Linked DNA regions of Homo sapiens: region 2 is linked to region 1. Evidence: promoter capture Hi-C in 16 types of primary human blood cells and fetal thymus (Javierre and others, 2016). All regions are on one chromosome and are shown on one strand. The core of a region is centred on a gene start or on the middle of the fragment in contact, and the rest is flanking DNA. Distances in the headings are between cores, read along the strand shown.

Evidence for each region. Contacts are between HindIII fragments. The CHiCAGO score rates a contact against its expected background, and 5 or more counts as called.
Region 2: a fragment that was not itself captured here is called in contact with the fragment with the promoter of IFNAR1 in region 1 in 1 of 17 cell types (total B cells); the score reaches 5.1 in total B cells.

What each region holds. Positions count from the first base shown.
Region 1 is chr21:33,323,636-33,326,335 of GRCh38, reverse strand. It overlaps IFNAR1 (interferon alpha and beta receptor subunit 1), which reads right to left and starts at 1,366. Exons shown (of 11, transcript NM_000629.3): 1 at 1,205-1,366. The coding sequence starts at 1,280. RefSeq lists cis regulatory regions at 1,377, 1,434-1,443, 1,934, enhancers at 538-1,439, 1,673-1,722, 1,943-2,152, 1,440-2,342 and promoters at 1,355-2,025, 1,379-2,662. The HindIII fragment of the contact is 6,325 bases long and covers 447-2,700 here.
Region 2 is chr21:33,263,193-33,265,892 of GRCh38, reverse strand. All of the region lies in intron 7 of IFNAR2-IL10RB (IFNAR2-IL10RB readthrough), which reads right to left. It overlaps IFNAR2 (interferon alpha and beta receptor subunit 2), which reads right to left. Exons shown (of 9, transcript NM_001289125.3): 9 at 229-2,700. The coding sequence ends at 2,393. It overlaps IL10RB-DT (IL10RB divergent transcript), which reads left to right. Exons shown (of 2, transcript NR_038974.1): 2 at 1-261. Among named protein-coding and RNA genes, the nearest start is that of IL10RB-DT, 1.7 kb to the left of the region's middle. RefSeq lists an enhancer at 1-10. The HindIII fragment of the contact is 3,561 bases long and covers 1-2,700 here.

The DNA of each region.
Region 1 (2,700 bases), core at 117-2,616:
CTACTCAAGAGGCTGAGGCAGGAGAATCGCCTGAACCTGGGAGGCAGAGGTTGCAGTGAGCTGAGATCACGCCTCTGCACACCAGCCTGGGCAACAGGCTGTCTCAAAAAAAAAAAAAAAAAAGTATAAATAAAAATGTCTTCCCATATTTTGGACAGTTTTCTTAGTCTTGGGTCCTAGAATTGCATTTACTAGTTTAAAAAGTATGACTATTTTTATGACTTCTGAAAGACTGAGCAACATTACAATCTCATTGAGATAACATTTCATTGAGTTTTGAACATGATTATTTCTTTGGGAAAAAAGTAGGTAGTTAAGTAAACCAAAAATAAAATTCTAAGCCCCCCAACAATGTGAATGGACCTCTCCTCTCAACAAATGGCATTCCAAAGTTAATCTGAAAAACTAGTTCAGGCCTTCCACACTGACCATGTCAATTACAAGCTTATCTTCTCAGGTGCAAAACAAAGTCAAGACTCCATCTACCCAGAGGCATCTGCATAACTGACTCCCTTTACTCTCTTTTTCTCTTCAAGACACTCATGGTATCTTAAAATACAGATTTCTTGGGCACTAACTAAATTCTCACAGAACTATTTGCCTTACTGCCTTCCTGCCCCACCTCCTGAAAACCTCTGGAAAACCAGTCACAGACGTGTTTGTGGCTCACGTTTTTCCCGGATGCGCCCTGAAGCAGGCTTAGTAAACCTCGAGAACTGACAATTATGCTTCAGTCACTCCGACTGTCATTTTTTATTGGCCTGTATGAATCCTGAGGGCAGAGAAATCCTGGCCACACTTAGCTCACTCCCCCGTGGGACTGGGCGCCTATTCACCAGATTGAGGAAATGCATTTCGGGAAATGTTTTGTTTATTATCAAACAGACCAGCGGAGCCGCGGTACTTTCCCGGAAAGAATCAAACTCGACACAAAGCTCTGGCACCGCCATTTCACGGGGGTGGGACCCGGGCGCTCCCGAGGACCCGTACACGGCCACAGGCAAGCGGCAAGAGAGGACCCAGAACACCACTTTCTCCTGGTTGATTTGCGAGCCCAGGTCGGGTTTAATCTTTGGCGCGGCAAAGTGGACCGAAGGTTTCCCAGACTGGGCGTCTGTCGCCCCCAACAGCATCGCCGCCCCCGTAGCCCAGCTGCGTGCCCTACCTCCCGCCCTGCGCCAAGACTCTCCTCCCCGCCTCTCACCTGCGGCTGCGGACAACACCCATGGCGCCACGGCGACGAGCACTAGGGTCGTCGCGCCCAGGAGGACGACCATCATCTGGGAGCCGCCGCAGATCCCACCAGTTACATGTTCGCGCACGCGCAGCTCCTCTCAGCCGCCATCGCCCCGTCCTAAGTCACACCGCCCCTCTGCACACGCGCTGCCCCTCTTAGCTCTCACCGCCCCTCTACGCACGCGCCGCCTCTTCTGACACACACACCGCCCCTCCGCGCACGCGCCGTTCCTCCACGCACGCGCCTTTCCTCCTAGCTAGCACCCCTTCTCCAAGCTCCCATTGCCCCATCCTAATTGCAGCACCCCTGTGCGCGCGCGCCTTAGAAATCGCAGGCCTCCTGCATTCTCTTCTTCCTCACTCTTTCCGGCCTATGGCCGGTCTGGAGCACTTCACCATCGCATTCCAGGACGACTCCCCCTCACAGGAGGCCTTGACCTTCACAGGATCGCGGCACACACCTGCGCAGACCCAGCGACTTTGGAGTTCCCGCGTCTCTTCCCCATGTCTGCAGTCGGAGGGCGCGGGTGGGCTCCTGGTCGCGGCCCGGCGCTCTTCGTCCTCGCCCTTCTCCGCCCGGGGCGCTTGCTGACCCTAGAGTCTTGGACAGTGGCGTTGGGAGTCCCCAGCGGCCTGGGAACCAGATGAGGCTGGAAGGAGGAAGTGGCTGAGCGACCAGACCGTTGCTGTGTGCAGAGCGAGAGCGGGGCAGAGGCGGTCGAGCGCTCGTTTTCCGGGCGACTTGGCTGAGGGGCGAGATGGTCCCTTGGAGAGAACAGCCACGGGCCCTGGGCCGAGGGGCTCCAAACAGCAGTCGCTAGGCTGTTTTGGTCGTCGGGCTTTATCAGTAAACAATTCGAGCCCATGGTTCGAATGATTATTTAATTAAATTCCTCAGTAATAGATCCAGTGCATTGTGAAAATATGCGAAATAAAATTTAAATGATGAGATAAAATAAGGAATCAAATACTTCGTTGTTATAACAACCAAGCAATTAATTAGCAATTACATAATTAAATGAATGTTTGTAAAGAACAATGCAATGGAATATATATGTATTCCATCTATATATTCCATCTCTATATTCCATCTATATATTCCATCTCTATATCCCATCACTATATTCCATCTCTATATCCCATCTCTATATTCCATCTCTATATCCCATCTCTATATTCCATCTCTATATCCCATCTCTATATCCCATCTCTATATTCCATCTCTATATTCCATATCTATTCCATCTCTATATTCCATATCTATTCCATCTCTATATTCCATATCTATTCCATCTCTATATCCCATCTCTATATTCCATCACTATATCCCATCTCTATATCCCATCTCTATATCCCATCTCTATATCCCATCTCTATATCCCATCTCTATATCCCATCTCTATATTCCATCTCTATATTCCATCTCTATTCCATCTCTATATTCCATATCTATTCCATCTCTAT
Region 2 (2,700 bases), core at 201-2,700, 61 kb after region 1:
GGAAGATCCGGAGCTGTCCAGTGTCTTGGGTAATGCACGGCATCGCCTGATGTCTGACGCTAGAACACCACGTAAAGTCAAGCAGAGGGAAGTGAATGCGCCCTAGGCCCCTGCAGGCCACCAAGAAGAGCTAGAGGGAGTTGGTGCAATCCTAGAGATGCCGGCAGGTGCACCAATCTGTGGCACACGTACGCTCTCCAATGGAAGACAACTCAAGACCACACCAAGTTTGTATTAAAAAAGTACTGTTGTGTTACTTTTTACCAACCTCCAATCATTATACAAAATGTTAAAAAATACACAAACACACACACACACTCACAGCCATAGAGGTTATCGCAAAAGATCAACCCAGAATCTTTCAGAATATGACAGATGCACTGAGAAGGCAGATAAATTGATTCAATATACAAAAGGCCTCTTTCCTATGGAATTTCATTAGATTAAATAAGGTGTTCCCTCCTCACAGCCTCATCCTTATGAGCAATCATATAAATAATCTATTTAAAGTCCTTGAACTATAACTTGTATAATTTTTAGTTTTCCCCCTTTGAAGGGGCCTAAGAGAAAGGTTTGAGAAACCAGCTCTTGAGGGGGGCAGGGGTGAGGGGTAAGAGGTCCTGTGCCTTTCATTCATCCTGGGAGCTTCTCAGGATTGCAGCATTTCCACCTGAGTGTTCATTCTTGTACATTTTCTCATCTTTCTCCTGGGTTCCTAGGATCTTGGAGATTACCTAGTCCAATCCTTTTACTTCAGAAACAAAAAACCTGAGGCTCAGAAAGGCTAAGTCAAATGCCTAGGGTCACACAGGGAAACTGTGGGAGTTGGATCCCTGAGTCCCAGTCCTTAAACTGGTTGCTACATGACATTCTAGAACCTCTCCCCACCAACTCCCTTTTTAAAGACAGGGTCTGGTTCTGTCACCCAGGCTGAAGTGCAGTGACATGATCTTGGCTCACTGCAACCTCCGCTTCCTGGGCTCAAGCCATTCTCCCACCTCAGCCTCCCAAGTAGCTGGGACAACAGGCACATGCCACTACGCCCAGTTAATTTTTCTAATTTTGTTTTGTAGAGACAGATTTGCCATGTTGCCCAGGCTGGTCTCGAATTACTGGCCTCAAGCGATACGCCTGTTTAGGCATCCCAAAGTGCTGGGGTTACCGGCAGGAGCAATTGCTCCGGGCCAGACTTCCCTTCCCCCGCCCACACCCCCCCAACCCGGCCTAGATCCACAGGCACTGTAATCACAGCTGACACACTCGACTCGGAATCAGCATAGAGAGCACTCTGAAAATTGTCAAATAGGGTCCCTGAAACTTGTATACCATACTTCTCCTGAAGATCTTGAAGCATCTTTGTGTTTGCTTTTTTTTTTTTTAACTTAAAATATGGCATTCAGGTTTTATCCCTCTCCCCGACGCCATGTTTCCTTTCTGTATTAGTCACACACGTGATCCTAAAGTCTGTCTTCCCCACTTTAACTGGGGAGGGCTGGACAAGGTGGAATTCCAATTGCAGGAGACAGGATGTGACATGGGTGAGGTGCCCAAGGCTCACCGACTGAAACTTCGATGGCTCTTCCCTGTTTCCTTGTGCAGGGCCCCCCTTCTCTCCACTGCTCACCTGGCTCTCCTCCTCCCTTCCTGCCTGCTTTGCAGCTCTTGCTACTATTTTCCTTTTCTTTCCCTGCTCCCACCCTGGCCCAATTTATTTCACAGAAATATCACAGGGCCAGCCAGGCACAGCGGCTCACCCCTGTAATCCCAGCACTTTACGAGGCTGAGGAGGGCAGATCACTTGAGGTCAGGAGTTTGAGACCAGCCTGGCCAACATGGTAAAATCCTGTCTCTACTAAAAATACAAAAATTTGCTAGGCATGGTGGCAGGCGCCTGTAATCCCAGCTACTTGCGAGGGAGGCTGAGGCAGGAGAATCACTTGAACCTGGGAGGCGGATGTTGCAGTGAGCCAAGATCACACCATTGCGCTCCAGCTTGGGCGACAGAACGAGACTCTGTCTCAAAAAAAAAAAAAAAAAAGAACGAAAGAAGAGAAATATCATAGGGTCCTGGACCACCTCTGAAACTGTGGGGAACCCTGCTCCCTGGTAGACATGATGCAGAAACATCCTAAGTGCATTAGTGTAAAGGAAAGGTGCACATGTGCTTCCTTCAAAGTGCACCACTTTGAATATGTAAACAATGCACTGAATGATACTATGGTCCCCATACTGGGAATGTGCATAGGTGATGTCACCTGGAAGAAAGGAACACCACAGTTTCCTCCTCCTTCCCTTGGAGAACACTTGCAGACGATAAGGCAGCAAGTTAGGATGCAGAGACAAAGAACCCTGTAGGTGCTTGTCTGTCCAAGTTCATTCAATAGTTTTGGAGTCATCTCATTATATAACCATCCCCAAGGTCAACATCTGACTCAGAAGTGTCACTTTGATCAGATGGAGCATCTTCGGACCACAGGCCCTCTGAAGAGGGGCTGGGAAAGGTTGGCTGTGTCCCTTCCCCGCTGGCCAGCAAATGGTTTGATTGCACATTATCAGGATCCTCTGGGTCAACCATCTCTTCCAGATGAGACGATAGCATCAGAGGGGCTTCTAAGTCGTCACTGTCCTCGTCATCAAGAACTCTCAAAAACACAGAGTTTAAGTCCACATTGAAGGTAATTCTGCCCCCAGACCCCTCCG